4 separate regions of the Homo sapiens genome follow, and all the other regions are linked to region 4. The links are contacts of gene promoters, found by promoter capture Hi-C in blood cells and fetal thymus (Javierre and others, 2016). All regions are on one chromosome and are shown on one strand. The core of a region is centred on a gene start or on the middle of the fragment in contact, and the rest is flanking DNA. Distances in the headings are between cores, read along the strand shown.

What was found. The method cuts DNA at HindIII sites, captures the fragments that hold promoters and counts their contacts. A CHiCAGO score of 5 or more calls a contact.
Region 1: a fragment that was not itself captured here is called in contact with the fragment with the promoter of RAB29 in region 4 in 3 of 17 cell types (endothelial precursors, erythroblasts and M0 macrophages); the score reaches 7.6 in endothelial precursors.
Region 2: a contact is called between a fragment that was not itself captured here and the fragment with the promoter of RAB29 in region 4, in 2 of 17 cell types (erythroblasts and naive B cells). The highest score is 5.9, in erythroblasts.
Region 3: a fragment that was not itself captured here is called in contact with the fragment with the promoter of RAB29 in region 4 in 1 of 17 cell types (M1 macrophages); the score reaches 5.0 in M1 macrophages.

The regions. Positions count from the first base shown.
Region 1 is chr1:206,102,763-206,108,070 of GRCh38, reverse strand. It overlaps AVPR1B (arginine vasopressin receptor 1B), which reads left to right. Exons shown (of 2, transcript NM_000707.5): 2 at 1-1,135. Among named protein-coding and RNA genes, the nearest start is that of AVPR1B, 12 kb to the left of the region's middle. The HindIII fragment of the contact is 4,766 bases long and covers 1-4,348 here.
Region 2 is chr1:206,042,460-206,048,215 of GRCh38, reverse strand. No RefSeq gene overlaps it. Among named protein-coding and RNA genes, the nearest start is that of RHEX, 7.8 kb to the left of the region's middle. RefSeq lists an enhancer at 464-633. The HindIII fragment of the contact is 4,180 bases long and covers 1-3,833 here.
Region 3 is chr1:206,141,067-206,146,067 of GRCh38, reverse strand. No RefSeq gene overlaps it. Among named protein-coding and RNA genes, the nearest start is that of AVPR1B-DT, 26 kb to the right of the region's middle. The HindIII fragment of the contact is 6,217 bases long and covers 1-4,392 here.
Region 4 is chr1:205,772,030-205,777,339 of GRCh38, reverse strand. RAB29 (RAB29, member RAS oncogene family) reads left to right here and starts at 1,858. Exons shown (of 6, transcript NM_003929.3): 1 at 1,858-2,067; 2 at 2,254-2,507; 3 at 4,773-4,844. The coding sequence starts at 2,384. RefSeq lists an enhancer at 2,944-2,993. The HindIII fragment of the contact is 8,570 bases long and covers 1-5,310 here.

The sequences.
Region 1 (5,308 bases), core at 716-3,215, 330 kb before region 4:
TTTGTTCTTCATGATGACTGGGAGGTAGAAGGAACACCAGCTGTGTGCCCCAAAGACCTGGGTTTGCATCTTGATCTCACCCCTTTTCTACCTGTATCAACTTAAGCAAGTTATCCAATCTCCCCCAGCAATGCTTTCTTCATTTATTAAATAGAAATAGCAATGCCCACTTTGTTGGGAGGGATTTGTAAGATTGTAGACTAGAGATAGAGCACTCAACAGATGTTAGAGAGGGGAACAATGGCCTGGCTCCAGATTGCATCTGGTAGATGACCTCCAGGGTCCTGACCCAAAAGAGTCTACAGTTCAGAGAGGAAAAGAGGAGACAGACCTGGGATCAAGGCTGACTAAAGCACTTTCTTGTCTACCCTTTGCCTTCTATAGATCCCCTCTTACTACTATGATATTTTCTGTTTTGCATTGCACAAGAATAATTTACTTGGGGTGGTGGCTTTGGAGCCCTCATTGTTCCTCCCATGGAAAGGCTACACTTGATCTTTTCCAGAAAGCTGGTTCTGTCCTGTGATATGGACAGTGGGGAGCGACTGCACACTGGCTGAGGGCCTCGGGAACCCATTCCAGGAAGCTCCTGAAGGAAATGGTGGATCTCATCGGATCTATGAGTGAAAGTTCTGCAGGACCTGTAGGAGGCTCGCCTGGACAGTCTGGGCCAGTGGAAGGGCCTTGGATAGGGTTCAAGGAGGAGGGGCCCTGTGGAAGCAAGAAGGAGGCTCTGTGCTCTCTGGGGTGAATCCCATTTCTGACGGCTAACCCCAGGAGAAACTGAACAATGCCGTCTCTGGCTGGGCACTTGTGTAAATTGTTTATGCCATCCTGTGACTGTGAATGACAGTACTTTAGTCCCTTAAAACCTATGTACAAGCAGGACATGAGGGGCAGACGGGACAGAGAGGAGGACAGGAGGGGTTCATCGGTTGACTACGGGGATTTCTCAGAATCGTTATGTTGTTTGGCACAGGCCAGTACTTTCCCAGATAATGTGTCTGTGTTTTGTATGTAAATAGATCACTTATCTACTACAGGGCTATAGATTCAGCCCAGGCTGTAGCAGTTCATTCCTGGGTCAGAAACCCAGGTTGAAATTCACCAATAAAAAGATTTAATATCCAGGAAATTCCTGCGCATCTTTAGTTTTCTAGGGACAATGATAATTGGATGTGCAAGATAAAATTAAAGTGTGTTTGTCTTGAGTGAAGGGGTGAGGTTGCTGGGGAAAGGGGCCACCCTGCATCCAGTTTAAGTGGGAAAAGCAGTGTCTTCGAGTTTGCCATAGGACCACAAGGTGGCAGTGTGGAGCCAAAAGTGGGCCTGGCCTCCGCTGGGCTTGACTTGGCAGCTCCTGCCTAAGAATCAGGGTAAGGCCCTTTCTCTAGCCAAATATTGCTGAGATCCAGTGCACATTCTTTAACTCTCCTGGAGGATATGAAGCAGTAATGACTAACAGGGAAGGCTAGGAAAGTCACCCAGCCTCTTAGCTTGTGAGTCCTCAAGTTCCAAAGAGTCTTGGTCCCTCACTTGACCCGGTTCTCCTGAGATACATGGACACACACTGGGTTCTCTCTAAACCCACGGAGATTTGGCAAGGCAAAGAACAAGAGGTTTCTACTGCAAGGTGAGGAAATGAGTATAGGAATTCCTGCCCAAAAGGCAGCAAGACACATGAGTCAGTGTTTGAGGGCCCTAGTAGGACCTCAAAAAGCCACATGAGCTATAGTTACTTTACGGGTTCTGGTTTAGAATCTGGGGGCATGGGTTAGGAGGCTTCTCTGAGAGTGCCTCGGAGCCCAGCAATCTGTCCCAATTCCAGAAGCAAAGAAACCCACTGATGTTGAGCGTAAAATACCTCCTCACCCTAGCACGTCTTGGTGGCTAATAGGATGCTCGTGGAATTTTGCTGCAGTTCCCATGGTGAGCATTTGGATGCTTGCTCCTTTAGAATAAGAATTCATTGAAAACAGGTCACATTTATTATGGTCTACTGTGGTCTATATTCCTAGGTCATTGTTGGCATGTAATCCACCATCTACTGGTTGCCAATAGCAAATCAGTTTTTCTGTGTCTTATTATCAGATAATTTTGGAAAAATCTTTGTCCAGTCCATGTCCATGGAGAAACCCAGTGTGAAACAGTATGATTGTTTCTGGGAGGTACCAATGACATATAACGTGGGAGAATGTGACTTCACTGAACTGGAAGCTATGCTCCTCAAAGGGTGGTTACTCATACAGGTGACTATTTGTACCGATTTAGACAGCTCACCCTTGAAGCTCATGGAAATATGACAAACAAAAGGCCATTTTGTTTCTACGTGGCTTGCAATGACTTTGAGGATTAGTTCAATTTGTTAGCTGGCCCCAATTATTAGCTTATTGGCTCAAACTCCTCAGGAGGTGACATCAGCCTTCCTCTGTACTTATGAGGGCATCTGAGCAGTCATGTGCACTATTGAAGTTCTAACCTCTGTAAGTCACTTGGTAGGGTCACACGTTTAAATCTACTGTTAAATCTAACTGTTAAATCTAACAGCACTCTCCAAGAATGCCTTCACTTAATAAGCAATCAGGGTGGGTTCTAATGTTAACCTCCATGATATATTCACTACTGAATGTCATATTTCTGAAGCAGAGTTTATTACAGAGCTTAATCAGATGGTCTACAATCATTCTAGCCTCTGGTCTCTGGTCTCCCTGACGTCAACTCCCTGCGCCAGAGTATCACAGCAGCCTCTGAGCCCAGACACAGACAGTTCTCCAGACAGTGCCACTCTGGGCCGCCCCTCAGGCATTTATTGAGAGCCTGCAGCAGGTCAGGTCTGTTCCTTTTCCTCCTGCCTTTTCTCCCATCAGTTGATTTTCCACCCTTTTTTTCTTTTTTGGCGGGGGGGACGGAGTCTCGCTCTGTCCCCAGGCTGGAGTGCAGCGGCACGATCTCGGCTCATTACGAGCTCCGCCTCCCGGGTCCACACCATTCTCCTGCCTCAGCCTCCCGAGTAGCTGGGACTACAGGCGCCGGGCACCACGCCCGGCTAATTTTTTGTATTTTTAGTAGAGACGGGGTTTCACCATGTTAGCCTGGATGGTCTTGATCTCCTGACCTTGTGATCCGCCCACCTTGGCCTCCCAAAGTGCTGGGATTACAGGCGTGAGCCACCGCGCCCGGCCTCCGCCCTTTTTTTCTAAACTGAGGTCAGAAATCACCTCTTTCTGGGATGTTTTTTCTGATTAAGGCTGGCTGATTCTAACATCCTATTCCCCGGATCTGTGTAAATACTGATAGGCTCTGGTTTCATTGCTCTGTGTTCATTGTTTTTTACATGTTGTTTTGTACATGCTCTCTGGCTCTTTCCTGTCCCCACAATTAGGTCATAGATGCCTTGACCCCACCCAATCTTCTTTTTGTTGATCTCTCCTCTCAACACCCAAGGCCTGTCCCAGAATTCTGCGGAAAGCAGGCAGTCTGTTTACTCTCATCCCCTCTCCTGGTGGGAGCTGTCTCAGCATTGTCCCTGCGGTGTCTCTTGGGTGCAATGTAACTTGTCTGAATCTCTTCAGTACACTCTTGAATTTTTTTTTCTTTTCTTTTTTTTTGAGACGGAGTCTTGCTCTGTCACCTAGGCTGGAGTGCAATGGCACGTCTTGGCTCACTGCAACCTCTGCCTCCCGGTTTAAGCCATTCTCCTGCCTCAGTCTCCTGAGTAGCTGGGATTACAGGCGTGCACCACCACAACAGGCTAATTTTTATATTTTTAGTAGAGGCGGGGTTTCACCATGTTGACCAGGCTGGTCTCGAACTCCCGACCTGAAATGATCCAACCGCCTTGGCCTCCCAAAGTACTGGAATTATAGGCGTGAGCCACCGCGCCTGGCATTTTTTCCCCCTTTTTTTAAGAGATCAGGCCGGGTGCAGTGGTTCATGCCTGTAATCCCAGTGCTTCGGGATGCTGAGGTAGGAGGATCTGTTGAGGTCAGGAGTTCAAGAGCAGCCTGGGCAACATAGTGAAACCCTCTCTACAAAACAATTTTTAAAATTAACTAGGCATCATGGCATGCACCTATAGTCCCAGCTACTTGAGAGGCTTTGGCAGGAGGATCACTTGAACCCAGGAATTTGAAGGTTACACTGAGTCATGATCATACTCCTGCACTCCAGTTTGAGTGACAGAGACCCTGTCTCTAAAAGTAAATAATTAGATAAATAATAAATAGAAGAAATCAATAAGAAGTAGAGTTTCACTTCTTGATGGGACAATGTTGCTGTTATTATTTTTGGTATTTATTCCTCATTCTGCCTGTCTAATCAGTAGACTCTGTTGTACCCCATTAAAAAAAGCTTTGTAAGGAGAGGAACGACAGTGGTAGCTAAAAGGTGAAGGGACAAACAAGCCAGCAACATTTTCCAACCCCAGAAACCCAAACCAGAATCATCCCCTTAGATCATCTTGGGGAAGAAGAACTCAGGAGGAGGAAAGCCTGCCTGATGCTCTCAGCACCAGGGCTGGGAGGGTCATCCACAGCCAGCAAATGGAGCACAGTTAATAAATCTCAGGTGTCTAAAACCTGAATACCACTGATCTTGGGTTTGAATTTGGCTAGGAGTAAACCTAGGGTTTCAATTTTGGGGGCATGTTTGTTTAGCTATTATGAGCAAAATTTCTTTTTACTTCATGTCAAATTAGCTGTTGGAGAAAAATATTTCTCTAGTCACTGGTTACTCATGTTATCAATTTTAAAGCATTTTAATTCTCTGGTTTTCTAGGGCTAGGATATCTGAAAAGGATGACAAATTTTTCCTCATTTCTATTTTTTTTTTTTTTTTTTTTTTGAGACAGAGTCTTGCTCTGTCACCCGGGCTGGAGTGCAGTGCCATGATCTTGGCTCACTCAGCTTCCAACTCCCGGGTTCAAGTGATTCTCCTGCCTCAGCCTCCCAAGTAGCTGGGATTACAGGTGCCAACCAGCACACCCAGCAAATTTTTGTATTTTTAGTAGAGATGGGGTTTCACCGCGTTGGCCAGTTTGGTCTTGAACTCCTAACCTCAAGTGATCCACCTGCTTCAGCCTCCCAAAGTGCTGGGACTACAGGCGTGCACCACCGTGCCTGGCTCCAATTTTTCATAGTTCTTGCTTTTGTTAACTGTTTTATCAACTGATTAGAACTTCTAGAACAATGTTAGATAACAAAGGAAATGGCAGGCTTGTGGACATTCTTACTTTGTTTCTGACTTAATAGGACTGTGTCTAGGAGCTTACAGTTAAATATCATGTAATCTCCTGATTTGAGATAAATCA
Region 2 (5,756 bases), core at 494-2,993, 270 kb before region 4:
AGAGTGCTACCCCACGCTCACCCCCCACCCCAATTTAGCGAGGAAAATATCCGCGGCAACCATAGCAGCTGTAACAAAAGGTAGGTGTATAATCAAAGCTAAAAAGATGTACAAAGAAAGGGCTATTGGATCAGAAAGGAGGAGCAGGTTGTTTCTAACTTTAGTGACGAGGGAAGACTACATGGAGGAGGTGGCATTTGTTGTGGTCACGGATGTGTAGGAAGGATTCCTATGGCAGTGCTGAGGCTGTGGATATACCAGATGGGAGGGTGCTTGTAGTGAAGGCATGGCAGTTGGAATATCCAGCCATTTTTCCTTCGATGAACATCTGAAATCACTGCTAAGAGAGGGAGCATTGTACACCTGAGGGTGAAAGGAAGGCTGTCACCTAGGATGCAGAAGGAGGGAGGAACAGAACCTGGGAAGACAGAGGGCACGAAAGACAGTTCATGAACTTCAAGAGCCCAGTGGACTGAGATCATGTCTGATTTCACTTATCTCCCCGGCTTCTAGGCCAGTGCCTGGAACACAGCAGCCCTCAATAAATGCTCATTGAATGAATGAGAAGTTGGACACACTCCCTTTGCTCTTTTTCAGGCTGGCCACAGATGTGCTGCCGTAACCGAGTGGAGCCATATACTCTCACCATTTCTAGGACTTTAAATGTTTTTCTGGTTGCTTTTGCAGAATTTCATTTCTCCAAATAGAAACCCTGCGTCCTCTTGAGGTTTATTACAGAGGTATTTATTGGTTGGGGTTGCTTTAAAGATCACCATCAGGTTTTCATTTTGCACAGCAGCTTATTTGCAAACGTCAAACAGGTGTCTTAACATTTGGCATCCTAAGAAAATTAAACTGTCAGCCTCTTGGGCTCCTACAAAAGAGCACCAGTGAACATGTGAAGCCAGAACTGTCCACAGGTGACTTAACAGGAACTGATCCCATATTACCATCCTTTACTGGCTCTGCACATATCCTTCATTCAATTTAAAAACATAATAAAAATTTTTTTTAAGCAAGCACATTTTACTTACTTATTTGTTTATTTAGACAAGAGTCTCACTCTGTCGCCCAGGCTGGAGTGCAGTGGCGTGATCTCGGCTCACTGCAACTTCTGCCTCTCGGGTTCAAGTGATTCTCCTGCCTCAGCCTCTCGAGTAGCTGGGATTACAGGCACCCACCACAATGTCCAGCTAATTTTTGTATTTTTAGTAGAGACGGGGTTTTACCATGTTGGCCAGGCTGGTCTCAAATTCCTGACCTCAAGTGATCCACCGGCCTCGGCCTCTCAAAGTGCTGGGATTACAAGCATGAGCCACCGCACCTGGCCGCAAGCACATTTTTAACAAGTGCAAAATGGAAACCTTATGCACATCTTACGATTTCGTTGACGACTCAGAACTGGGGATATCTCGTGTGACCTCCGGTCAGCAGTTTAAAGGATGAGGCATACTTATCCCCATTTGTAGCTGAGGTAACTGAGTGATAAGTGAATTGCTCCAGGTCACAGTTAGCAAACAACAAAACCAGCATCCAAACAGAGGTCTCAAAATCCCTTAAACTACCTTTCATTTACTACACAGATTGTTTCTATATCATCTTTATTAGCTGTAATAACCACATAAATTTTGGAGTAGCTAAGGACAGTTGTTCAGGTTGTTTATTGCTCAAGGGCATGACATCTAAAGAAACTATCCAACCTGTAATCCCAGCACTTTGGGAGGCCAAGGTGGGCAGATAATCTGAGGTTGGGAATTCAAGACTAGCCTGACCAACATGGAGAAACCCTGTCTCTACTAAAAATATAAAAAATTAGCCAGGCGTGGTGGGGCATGCCTGTAATCCCAGCTACTCAGGAGGCTGAGGCAGGAGAATCGCTTGAACCCGGGAGGTGAAGGTTGCAGCGAGCCAAGATCGCACCATTGGACCCCAGCCTGGGCAACAAGAGTGAAACTCCGTCTCAAAAAAAAAAAAAAAGAAAGACAGAAACTATGCACATCACAGACATCATTATGTTGAATTTTTTTCACTTTTTTATTTAACTGCTAACTCTAAAGGTAGATGACATATTCTTATTAAAATAGTTTTCTGACAAATAACAATAAAATGTCTTCTCTAACAAAGATCCTTTTTTATGACAATTTTCTTTCAGATGGAAATAGATTTTCTAACAGGGTTGACATTTACTTCATAAGCTGAAGCAGAGAGTGTTTGACAAAGACCTTATTGGTTTAAGTAACGAGTGCCACAATAACTAGTGCTTCCAAACAAGGAGTTGTTTTCCAACTCTTGTTTTGATTTTTATCTAATTTTTTTTTAAATCCTGTATTAGTATTTGTGTATTGGCTAAATTTGAAGTTTTGCATTACAGTTCATATTGTCTGCCTGAATGGTAGCTCTGAATTCCTAATTTAGATCTACGGATTTTTATTATTACATAACTCACTTTTGTGGTAATTAATGATCATAGGCAATTATATATTCATAAAATAATTATTTTATATTCATAAATTAGAGACTATTATATCATGAATTGTGAATTGTATCATAGCTATTGTTTATGGGTTGTTAAAGAAAATTTCTTCAGGAGAAAAGCTAACTGCTGGTAAAGTTTCATGGCTTATTATATATATTTTTTAAAGTTTTAAGTTCTAGGATAAACTACTATTATGTTTTAATTATGTATATAGATATATACACATATATATATATATATATTTTTTTTTGAGACAGAGTGTCGCTCTGATGCCCAGGCTGGAGTACAGTGGCATGGTCTCAGCTCACTGCAGCCTCCGCCTCCCGGGTTCCAGCTATTCTCCTGCCTCAGCCTCCTGAGTAGCTGGGATTACAAGCATGTGCCACCACGCCTGGCTAATTTTTGTATTTTTAGTAGAGATGGGGTTTCACCATGTTGGTCAGGCTGGTCTTGAACTCCTGGCCTCGTGATCCACCCGCCTCAGCCTCCCAAAGTGCTGGGATTACAGGCATGAGTCATCATGCCCGGCCTTAATAATATTTCTTTAACATTTAATAAGCTAATATAATATTATTTCTCCCAGGATACTGATAAGAAAAAAAAATCAAACTAAAACTAGAAGATGAAAAGCTGTCTAGATAGAAAGTAAAGTAAAACTATTTGGATTATTGAATAAATTTAGGGAGAAATAGAGAGTTTAGGGCTGTTTGTTTCAGTGAATGTGTCACAGAAATGTGAGATGTGAATTTACCTTTTAGTTCCATTGTCAGAAATAATCGATGAATCTAAAAAAAAGTAGCTTTAAAAATGCAAAGAATTCAAACACATGGCCAAGTAGTTTGAATAGGAAACAAAGATGTACTCTTGCTGAAAATTATTCACCTCAAGTAAAAAATTTTTTATCTTTACAAAAGATAATACAGGTTGGAAGTTTTTGGAAATATAATGGACACAAATTTTTTCCAAATGGTGAGGAGAAATAATAATGACTAGATTCTGATTATTTTATTATACTTCCAAGGACTCTGTATTTTGCCAGCTCTTTGAGAACAAAAAATCAGCTGGAAAATGGGAAAGAATGCAAAGATTGTACAGCACTTGGCACATTTTTTTGTAAACATGAAGAATCTGAAATAAACATCAATAGGAATGCTAAGTATTCAAATTTCAAATCTGATTAGAAATATATAATTATTAATGCTGCAAAACAGATTCTATATGATGAGGAAAATATTACATTGAACAAAAAAACTCAATTCTGTTTTGGCAAGACAATATCTAGCATTCAGAGGATCATCTACAAAAATGTATAAGCAGTATAATAACAGGAATTTTCTTCATTTACGAAAAGCATAGAAGCTTAATAGAATTTACAGCAGTATACAAATATATATTGTATGTTTCAAATATGCAATAATTTGTATATATACAATATATATTTGTTTATATAAACATATACTTGTATATTATTGTACAAATATTATATACTATATATAAACACCAAATATATACCAAATATTATATACTATATATAAATATTATATACTATATATAAACACCAAATAGCATTTACACATTATGTAGCAGATGAAAAGCAAAACCAAATGATTAAAATATAGCAGATTTGTTGACTGAAGTTATTTTGAATCTTGTAAGAAGTGCTAAATATCACACAGTTAAATAACTTGAGGTACATTTCCTGATGTAAGCCACGTGGAACAGTTGACAATTATTTTTAGATTTGTACATTTTCAAAATGCAAATATATCTATATGTAAACATTAATTTTTTTCCCTACAGTAAATGATACAGCTGGAGAAGGATTATTTAGGTTTTTGGTTGACCACAACCATCACCAACAGAAGCACTGAATATAGGCTATAATGATTTGAGGGAGCAGATACAACAAAGATGAAAAAAATTTATGACAAACTTAATGGATTTCAGCATAGGTCCCCAAAAGATTCTAAGGCTGCCTTGCTCTGTCGCCCAGGCTGGAGTGCAGTGGCCTGATCTCGGCTCACCGCAATCTCCGCCTCCCAGGTTCAAGTGATTCTCTTGCCTCAGCCTCCCAAGTAGCTGGGATTACAGGCACACGCCACTGCACCTGGCTAATCTTCTGTATTTTTAGTAGAGAATGGCGGTTCACCATGTTGGGCAGGCTGGTCTCGAACCCCTGACCTCAGGTAATCCACCCACGTCAGCCTCCCAAAGTGCCAGGATTACAGGCGTGAGCCACCACGGCCGGCCAGGTTGCCTATTCTTTAAAGCCAATAGTGAATAAAATATTAAAAATTCCTGTCTGGGTGAGGTGGCTCACACCTGTAATCCTCTACAATCTGAAGGTCAATAGCAAAATTAGTTTTTTTCTATATTGGAAGCAATAATATCTCTTTAAAAGAGAGGCTTATAATAAAGAATATCTCAAGGTCTTTTCAGTATTCTAGATGACATGCATAAATTGAAAAATTATGACAAATATGAGCTTCTGCAACCATTAAAAATATACAATTGAAATTGAGAAACATAGGAGGAAGAGTGATACTGATGAAGCATTAGTGTAAGAGGAACTAAAATCCTGAAGTCGCTTTCTAAAATCTAGTTGATATGGCTGGGCTCACACCTGTAATCCCAACACTTTGGGAGGCAGGAGGATCGCTTGAGCTCAGAAGTTCAAAACCAGCCTAGGTAACATGGTGAAACACTGTATCTATACAAAATTTAGCCAGCATGTTGGTACATGCCTGTAGTCCCAGCTACTTGGGAGGCGGAGAGCAGAGGATTGCTTGAGCCCAGGAGGTTGAGGCTGCAGTGAGCCATGATCGTGCCATTGCACTCAAGCCTGGGTGACAGAGCAAGACCCTGTCTCAAAAAATAAATAAATAAGTAGATTAATAAAATCTAATTGCCTCCCATGAAATGCCTCAATTTATTTTCAGTAATAATATACCAGACACATTTTCCTAAAACCATCCTAGCTCTTAGGATACATTAACTTTGGTAGTATCAGCCAGCAGTGGAAAATGTAGATACTTTTAAAACAATTATAAAAAGCTACTTATCAAGAATGTCACAAGAAAGACTATCAATTCTAGTGACCATTTTTATAGAAAATAAGATACTGAGCCGGGTGCAGTGGCTCATGCCTATAATCCCAGCACTTTGGGAAGCCGAGGGGGCGCAGATCACCTGAGGTCAGGAGTTCGAGACCAGCCTGGCCAACATGGTAAAACACCATCTCTACTAAAAATACAAAAATTAGTGGGGCATGGTGGTGCAC
Region 3 (5,001 bases), core at 35-2,534, 370 kb before region 4:
TTCATTATTTCAGCTGTTGCCCAAGGAAGAGATTTTTATATTTGGTTGAAGTGTCCCATTCAACCCAGAAAATCAAATACCATTTTAAAAGATCCTGACTTTGGAAGTTAGCCTCACAGCTGCCTGGGGTGCCTCACGATCCCTCTCTATTCAAAAGCCTGTTCTTGTTTTCCATTTTACAGCTCATGTCCTGGTCTCTTCTTTCTGCTTGGGTGGGGTTGGCTGCCTAAGGGACTCAGGTCCTATTGCCACTTGGATCTAAGCAGGGGAGGCTGTTAGGGCCAGGGGAGGGAATCAGACTAACCAAAGAGTCGGGGGAGTTTTTAGGGCATCTCCTGTCCTTTTGCCTGAGGGTAACCACTCCCCCCTCCGCCCCGCTCCCTGCACCCTGCCCCCAGATGGAGTCTCTCTGTCTCCCAGGCTAGAGTGCGGTGGCACGATCTTGGCTAACTGCAAGCTCTGCCTCCCGGGTTCATGCCATTCTCCTGCCTCAGCCTCCCGAGTAGCGAGACTACAGGCGCCCGCCACCACACCCAGCTAATTTTTTGTGTTTTTAGTAGTGACGGGGTTTCACCGTGTTAGCCAGGATGCTCTCGATCTCCTGACCTCGTGATCTGTCCGCCTCGGCCTCCCAAACTGCTGGGTTTACAGGCAAGAGCCACCGCGTTTTAACTCTTTGTCCTTCATATGCCCGAAACATAAACTTCTAGTGCTTTTTCTTCACTTACCAATTTTGGACATTATCTATTTATTTTCCGCAATGGTAGGTAACTCTTTCACACACTGACGCTTCTCAGCTCTTCTCTTCCATCTTCCTAATATAATGTCTAGGCTTTTATGACCCTGAACTACTGTTGACCCCAGAATAAGTATGCACTATGCCATGATTACATTTCTTTTCCTCTCTAGCTTTTCTCTGCCCCTAGTTTCAACATTTCTTTCTTTTTCCTCATACTATTTGCCTTGATCCTTGCCACATTCTTTTCTTTCCAAACCTCCATCATCTCGCCTATGTTATCTGCCACCTTTCTTCCCAGAGATCTTGTACACAGAGTCCTTTGTAGAAGCAACACATTCATTTGTTTAGAAATAGACATGGAGTGCCCACTGATAGCCAGACCTGCTTCAGTTAATTTATTAAGTCATTAAGTCATTGCTTTCAATAACCATATGCTGAGTGCCAGGCATGAATAATACAGAGATAAATAAAATATAACCTTTGTGCCCAAGTAGCTACCCTGTCTCTTTCCCTCACCTAGGTCAGGATCTCTCTTGTTCCTGGCATCTAGCCCAGTACTTAGCACATGGGTTGCCCTTAGTAAATATTTATTGTTGAGAACATTATTGGACTCATTTTTCAGGCCCATCTTCACTCATCTCCCCTGAATGTTGCTTAAATAGGGACGATCCTGGTGTCATCCCTATTTAAACCCAGTGCACAGCGATTTCATCTCAGAGGTGCTCAGTGCAGGCTTCAGGTTCTCTTCTGCCTTAGCCCTGTTATTGCATGGGATGCAATCCTGCCCCACTTCCACCCCGAGATAAGGTTTCTTGAGCTGCATCCTCTGGCACAAAATCCTTCCTATCCCCAAGGGAGGCAATGTATGGGTCCTAGGATAGCATTGAGAACAGGGGCCTAGGCATCTGCTCTGATGTCCTCATCCTCTAAGCCTAAGGCAGTACTAGCCCTCCTCCAAGTCTCCGTTTCCCTGGCAGCCCTGCACTTCCTCCCCATTTCTGTTTCCCTGGCTGTAAAACTCTGAAGCAAGGCCTGCCCTTCTTTCCTTCCCCTGCATGCAGTTTAGGACCAGGTGGAGGTTCTTAGCTGTGAAAGGCCTCATGAGGACTATTAATGTACTCTTTAGGAGGATTTTGTTTCAGCTCAAATGCATTCTGCAAGGATTTCACAGTGACAAAGAGTTCGTGTATGTGTTGCAAGACAGCTCCCTTCTCTTGTCCTGAGGGAGTTTGCACCTGCTTACTCAGGACAGGCTTTTCCACAGACCGTCCTCCATGCTGTCCTCCCACCTCAGGTGTCTGGTTACTGCCAGAACCATTTATTCCGACCCTCCATCTGGCCAACAGATTAAAAATCCCCCACAATGCAAAGGGCGACTGCAGATGGCCGTGCACCTGGGAGTCCCGAATCCCTGGGCTGCAGGACCTGGAGTTGGACTTCCCTGCTTGGCTGACAGCCTTGGAACCTCCAGTTCATCTAACAGGGAACTGTAAAGCCAGCCCCTCATTAGAACAGCCTGCAGCCCAAGTCCACACTGAAAAGAGGTGGAGGTGCTAAACTGATGCCTGTAACTTAATATCTGGTGAGTTCGCCCACGCAGTGCACAAGAGACGTGCACTCAGCCACCGTATGTGACTGGCACTCACAGTTCTTCTCCCGAAAGCTACAGCCGCACACGGTGTACCCCATGCAGCCCTTCTCAGCAACCCTTGGGAGACATTCTCATGACTCGTCACCATCTGAATCCCTCGCTCTCATCTGTCTTTGGTGAAGAACCTGGGTTCAGAGGCTTCCAATCTCTTTTCCACATGGCAGCCTTAAAAATGTATATACTTTCAAATATAAAATGAAAACAGAAATGTTCTCCCTCAGTGCTTGCCAGTGCACTTAGAATATGACTTCAGCTGGTTCCCATGGTCTAGGAGGGATGTGGCCCTGTCCACCCCACCCATGACCTTGTCTCAGGTCGCCCTGCCCAGCTCTCTGCCTCCAGGAGCACTCCCCTCCCGACCGACAGTTCTGAGAACTTTTTCTCTTCCTTGGAGTGCTTTTCTCTCCATACGCAGGATGGCTGGCCTTCATTTTTCTGGTTTTGGCTTAAATGTCATCTTGGAGACATCCTCAATGACATCTCTGTCCAGAATAGTTCTCCCCATACCCTTATTCCCCTAGATCCCTAGGTCCCTGCTCTTTTTTTTTCCAGGGCTCTTATCTCAATTTTTAATTGTATATTATTTTTCGTTGACTTGTTTTTCTTGTGTTTTCCCTGAAACAGTAAGCTCCTTGAGGAAGGGATCATATATAGTCTAACCAGACAGCCTCTGTCATAGTGCATGGCACATAGTAGTTGCTCAACAAGTACATGTTGAATGTCAAATGAACAAATGTCAGGAAACAAATGTCAATCGAGTCATTTCCTGAATTCAGTGCCTTTTAGGGCAGTGGTCTCAGACTTTGTTGCACATTAGAATTACCTGGAAAGGTTGAAAAATACCTCCATAGCTATTAAATCAAAACCTCTAAGGGGTGAGATCAAAGCACCCATTTTTTAAAAAGTCTTCAGGTGATTCCAATGTGCAGCTAAGAACCCAGTGTTTAGAGCAGTGGTTCTTACATGTAGTCCTGGACGAGCAGTATCAGCCTCATGTGGGGACTCATTAGAAATGCACATTCTTTGGTCCTACCCAGATCTACTGAGTCAGAAATTCTAGTCAAGCCACTTTCCTGCGCCCTCCAAGGGATTCTGAGGCAGGCTAAAGTTCGATAATCACTGCTTTAAAGAAGGGGTCGTGCTGTCTCTACTCTTCGCCTTGTCATTTTTTGTTGGCATCAGCAATAGGAAAATGGGACACTCTTTAGCAGGATGACCACTGTCCCAGTTTGTGGGGGACTGTCCCTGTTTTACTGAAAGTTTCACATCCCAGGAAATCCCTCATTCCCCAGCAACCAAGACAGTTGGTCCCCCTACTATTTAGAACTCTTTTGATCGAAATACCAGATCCACCGGACAAGTTGAGTAAGTGTGATAAGTGCATTAGTAGGTTTTAAAATGTTAATGTGATCTAATATCCCTGTGATGGCTCCTCTGAGTGCTGGGGGATAGCTGTGTGGCCATCAGGTATGCCTGGTCACCATGGCTCCCACTTCAGATGTCTGCAGAAAGCAAACATTGCTATGCCTTGCTCAGGTCCACCTCACTTAGTGCTATACATGGATAATTTGGTTTTGTTTTTCAAAGGAGGGCACCACAGTGTTATAAAACAATTCTCAGAGACTCCCACTACCACCTTTGTAGTCGCATAAATGACTTAGAAGAAAGTGAAAATAAAGCTGTCTATTTTTTGTACAGGCAAAAAAATGATAACATCATTCACAGGTTGCAAAGGCCTCATCTGAGAGCAGCAGGAACTTATTTTTTTTTTTTCTCTCTCTCTCTCTTCAAAATGTATTTACTTTTAGATTTTCCAGTTAGGTGGGTATGCTACAGGAAAGCCCAGAAATGTGGCTTCGGATTAAAATTGCAAACCTGGATCTACCTAGATTTCTTTCCAAACCAATGTTTACAAATGAATTTAAAACCTAAATGCCCAAGGGAGTCAAAGAAAGAATTCCAAGTTCCTTTTAACTCAAAGGTTGGATTCAAGGTGAGTTTAAGCTTTCTGATGGTGACAGCCAGGATTATTTGGAGGTGATTTATGACTGAGGGAGAAAATGATGACCTGCCTAATTCTCTGCCCCCCAGAAAACCAGTCTCTCAGCCAAGACCACTTAAACAGATGAAATGGAAGAGTTCCCTGACCCCCCCTCGCAGGATGTGTGATTGGGGGTGGCTCATATGTTCAGCCGCTGGGTGCTCAAACCCCTTACAGGAAGGGGAGCATGCAGACAGTCAGGTGCAGGAGTCAGGGTGAGCGCTTTTTGGGCTCCAGCCCCATGGTTGTGTCTATGGGTGGGTGTCTGCAACTCCCAAAGCCCAAGTGGGCGTGTGTTACAGTGCTCTCTTTTAGCCTTGCTGTCCAGGGATGGCTTAAGTGTTAGACAGCTCAGTAGACACTCTTGGTACCCAGGTCTTTGTCCGGTGTCCAGGAAGAATCAGGTCACACACAGATTTGAAGGATGAATGCAGGGGTTTTATTGAGTGGTGGAGGTGGCTCTCAGTAGGATGGATGCGGAGTTAGAAGGGGGATGGAGTGGGAAGATGATCTTTCCCTGGAATTTGAATGTCCAGTGGCGGATCTCCTCTCTAGATGCCCCCAGCTGAA
Region 4 (5,310 bases), core at 609-3,108:
CCGTGACAAAGCTGCCTTTGCATTTATCAATTTGCAAATCAGAGAAGAGGGACATGTTGAGAGCAGGCCCCCCAAAATCTGGCCATAAACTGGCCCCAAAACTGGCCATAAACAAAATCTCTGCAGCACTGTAACATGTTCATAATGGCCCTAACGTCCACGCTGGAAGGTTGTAAGTTTACAGGAACGAGGGCAAGGAACACCTGGCCCGCCCAGGGTGGAAAACCGCTTAAAGGCATTCTTAAGCCACAAACAATAGCATGAGTGATCTGTGCCTTAAGGACATGCTCCTGCTGCAGTTAACTAGCCCAACCTATTCCTTTAATTCGGCCCATCCCTTCGTTTCCCATAAGGGATACTTTTAGTTAATTTAATATCTATAGAAACAATGCTAATGACTGGTTTGCTGTTAATAAATACGTGGGTAAATCTCTGTTCGGGGCTCTCAGCTCTAAAAGCTCTAAAGGAAATCAGACCCCTGATTTCCCACTTCACACCTCTATATTTCTGTGTGTGTGTCTTTAATTCCTCTAGCGCCACTGGGTTAGGGTCTCCCCAACAGAGCTGGTCTTGACAGAATATCACTGATCAGAGATAAAGAACAAATAAAGTGAAGATAGATCTTTGACACCAAGGACAATTCACTAAAGAGTTTATCGAATGATTGACTCAGAGACCAAGAATCAGGCCTTAGGAAATACTTAGCGGGAAATGGGATGGAGAGAAACCTGAAAGAAAAAGATAATCATCAGAGAAGTACGGGGATGACAAAGAAAGAACAGCGTCATAGAAGGCATAAGGGAAACAAATGTCAAGGAGTGGTCAACTATGTCAAAACGAATAAGAACAGAGAAAACTGGATCCTTAAAGATGAGTAGCTTGAACTAACCTCCTGTACCTGGGTAACGAACATTCTGGGCAAAATATATTGTGAACCATGCTGATGTTCTTTCGCCACAAAACATAAGTGATAGCCTCTCTATCAAGAGACCTAGATTTCCTAGTGTCTGGTCCTGGGCTGTTTTCCCATGGCCCCGCTGGTTCTCTTCCTCTATTCCTAGAAAAGTATAGAAAATGGAGCTCTCTTTGCTTGCCATTGAGCTCATGTCCTGCCAACTTCTACCCAAGTGACAGGTAGGTCAGTAAAGTTACAGGCTGAGAAATTAAAATTATTTGCCAAACACTAGTTTTATGATTATCTATTAACAACAGCCACAACAAATCAAGAAGGAGTCCCAGTGTATTTCAATTAGCTTCTAGCTCAAGTGATACATGAGTAGTATGGCTAGAATAGGCATTGTAGAAGTATGAATGGAGAACTGTCTCTTGTTTTCTGTCCATCTTTATTGTTATTGCTGGATATTAAATGCTGTAATTTTTGGCATAGGTTTTTTTCCAAAGACTGGTCTCTTGGGTCAAGTTTTCCTGAACTTGCCTGGTATTGGGCAAGTTCACACAGAAAATATGAGTCATTTCACAAAGTCCTGGGCTTGTCTATCTACTTGAAGGAATAGGAAATGGACTTCACTTGGAGCATGATGGATGAGGCTTGGGCTTTTACTAATGAAATAAGTTTCAATCTTAACTCAGTTAAACCTTTAAAGACAGGAGAAAACTATCTGGGGATGGATTCAGGCCAGTGAGATCACGTTGCACAAATCTCCCCTTAAGGGATCTTTACTGACCTAGAATTGTTTCAAAATAAGATTCCAAACTGTCGAGGGAGTTTGAAGCCTTGAAACTTGGTGTAGGTTTGCTTAAAACAAAATAACGAATATACTACATTTCCCAGGAGGCTTCGCGGTGAGCCTCCGCACTCGGCTGGTTCTCTTTACCGCGAGGAAAGCTGGGAAATGTAGTGCCACAGGCAACCCTGCACGTGACGCTTGCGGAGGAAGGGGAGAGAGAGGCGCGCGGGAGGGCGTCTAGGGAATCGAGGTGCCGGCTGCTCCTTCCTCACAATTTGGTTTGTGCTGCAAGGGGAGGGTCCCCATCATCTGGCCCCAGTGGTGTAAGGAGCTGACTGGGATTCAGTCACTGACTTGGAGCCGCTCGGGGGAAGTCCCGGTGGGTGAGGTTCCGCGGCGCCTGGTCCAGTTTCTCGGCAGTCAGGCCAGGAGGGGGTGGGGAAGGTGCGAACAGCCGGGGGCTCGGAGCTCGCGCCCTGCGCCCCACCCAGGTTGCGGCCGCCCGGGGAGGAAGCGCGTATAGGTTGAGTGCAAAGTTTCCTTTTTTGCTTTCTCGTCAGAGCAGCCCAGACAGGCGGTGGGTGGGAATGCCTCACTTCAGTTTGAAGAGGGTCCGGATCCAAAGGGGTTAAAACGAGCGACCCCCGATCCCCGACCACACTTCCCGCCTCCCTAAAACGCACACCCCGCTAGCCATGGGCAGCCGCGACCACCTGTTCAAAGTGCTGGTGGTGGGGGACGCCGCAGTGGGCAAGACGTCGCTGGTGCAGCGATATTCCCAGGACAGCTTCAGCAAACACTACAAGTCCACGGTGGGAGGTGAGACGTCTCGGGGGTGGGGAGGGGGAGGGGGAGGAGGAGGCCCCGACCGCGGACTCGAGCTGGGGACCCAAGTGGGGTGGGGATTTGCTGTCGGTTGTTGGGTCCTTCTTCGGGTCAGGAAGTACTGTCTGGGAACCTAGATGGTGTAATTGCCGGGTGTTTGGTTTACACGCCTCTCTTGAGTTTCCCGTTAGATTTTCCCAAACTGAGCCCACTGCCAGGAGAAAGGTAAGAGCAAAGGCGTGAAGATGAGAAATAGGGAAGGGAGGATGAGGATGAGCAATTGCTGTTTATTGCAGGCGTACTGTGAACTTAAGTCTCCAGCCTTTCAGCTGTCCGGCAAATCTCTCCAATCAGCAGAAGCAGCTGAGATCCTCTGTGGGGCCTCCTGGTTAGGTGCCGGCTGGGGCTGTAGTCCTGCCCCTCTGTTGAGGGAGGAACCGCAAGGTGTTTAACCTGGCTTCAGTGGGAGAACGCAGGAAGCGGAACTGGTCTGAAGGACTGTAGCTTTGTTGTGGGGCTGTGGGTGGGATGGAAGACACAAAATCCCCGAACGAGCCCCTTGGCTACGCAGTCAGATGCCCATGAGGGCTGATGAGCTGTGTTTTTGTCCGTTGATTGCTTAAATAAAGGTAACCAAGGAATTCTTCCAAGAATGTGAAATATACCACTTCTCTGACCTATCTTCCCACCACTTTTTTCCTCAAACTGGAGAAGGTAGGGAGGAAGGGGACACCGAGTTCATTCATTTCTTTCCCGGGTGTGGCCTTTGGACTCAACTATTTTTTCAGAGGCAGAAATGCCTTATTGTTAATTAGAAGGTATTTAGCTAGGAAGAGCTGGTGATGGGGGAGAGTAACTTAAAATTTTATTTCTCTCTGTTAAAAGAACTTGTTTCAAGGGGGGAAAACTCGTACCAATGGAAAAATTGAAAATGTGTGCTCCTGTTCATATGGAAGTTTAAAAAGAAATTAACAAACATTTACATTGCAATTAAAACATTCTCCTTAAGAACCCCCAGTAGGGCCCAGTACCGTGGTTCATACTTGCAATCCCAGCACTTTAGGAGGCTGAGGCGGGAGGATTGCTTGAGCCCAGGAGTTCGAGACCAGCCATGGGAAACATGGCAAGACCCCCACCTCTACAAAAATTAAAGAAGAAAGTAGCCGTGGTCCCAGCTACTCGGGAAACTGAGACGAGAGGATTGCTTGAACTGGGGAGGTCGAGGCTTCAGTGAGCCCCGTTCGCACCACTCACTGCACTGTAGCCTGGGCAACAGAGTGAGACCCTGTCTCAAAAACAAAGGAACAAAAAATTTAAGTCTGGCAAAATTAAAGGTTCAAAGTTTCAGACACTCTATCCTGACCGCTCTGCCCTCCCACTCCTAAATAATATAAGGGTCCCTATTTCACGGATTTGGGTTAAAAGTGGCCTGCTATTAATAGTTAATTTTTAACAATTGCTGTAGTTTTCCTTTAGCAAAGAATATAATTGGCTAATTTTTTTTTCAGTGTTTAGTCTAAATTTCCCTTAGCTTTGATTCCTGTCACAGATGTGAAAGATAATATTTCCAAACCTCAGAAATTACTCTGTTTCTCTCCTTAGCCAAAAGGCTTTCCCCATGGAATACTTACTCAGCCTTAAGGAGTCTCAGCACCTGCAGACTTGGTGGTAGATTCCAGCAGGACTCTTCAGCAACATCCACACAGTGTCTTCTTCTTGGGACTCCTCTGGGACCTTTTCCATTTATTCCATTCTTGCCCAAGATAATACCTGCAACCTTATGGTGGATGTAGAGTTCCCCAGGGTGTGTTCTTTTCATAATACAATTTGATTAGAAACCAACAGTGAAATTGAATGTGGAAGATACGAAAGCAACCACACTTGTCTCATTTCCCCCTTCTCCCCCATCACCCCTTCCCTGAGAAAACCCCCTAAATCTCCCAGAAACTATTTAACCTGAGAATGAGAATTGTTTTCATAGTTACTCCCACCCCCAGTCTTGGAGACAAACAGTAGCAAATAAATGAGCTTGACAGTAGAGTAAAAGCTGGAAACCCCTTTGGAGAGTGAGTATGAATCATCCATCTCACACTAAATACACGCATGTGGACTCATCTCAGTGAATTGAGGGCTTAAAGTTAAACATATGGGATTGGAGTTGTGTGTCCATAGGGTTTCACTGCCTATTTGATTTGAGTTTATCCCTATTAATTTTTTACAGTGAAATTTTATTAAAGTATAATGTACATATATTTTCAGTGGATTTTGCTCTGAAGGTTCTCCAGTGGTCTGACTACGAGATAGTGCGGCTTCAGCTGTGGGATATTGCAGGTAAAGTGGGAGGGCTAGATAGGAACAAGGGAAGAAATTTTGATTTAACTAGAAAGCTCTGAGGAAAAAATGGGGCAGCAAAGCCAGAAATTGTTTTTCTGAAGCTGGAATGATTGAGCTGCTCTGAGGACACATGAGCTGAATAGGTGCAGAGCTTTTGTAGATGTTTTGCCCTGAATAGATCTGGAGCAGTCTCTATGTGGATGGAGGGGCTGGCAAGGTGGTGGATTGTCCAGACTATAGGTGGACACTCCCACAGCAGGGGAGGGTGCTTTTTCTAGGTTTAAGGCTGACCTTGGTGAAAAACAAGATCCCCAGAAAATAGATACAGTAAAAATAGTGAATCCTTACTATGTGCCAAGCATTCTTCTAAGTATTTTAAATTCACTGACTCATTAATCCTCACATCAACCCTATCATAAAAGCTACTGCTTTTGGAGAATTGCTTGAACCTGGGAGGTGGAGG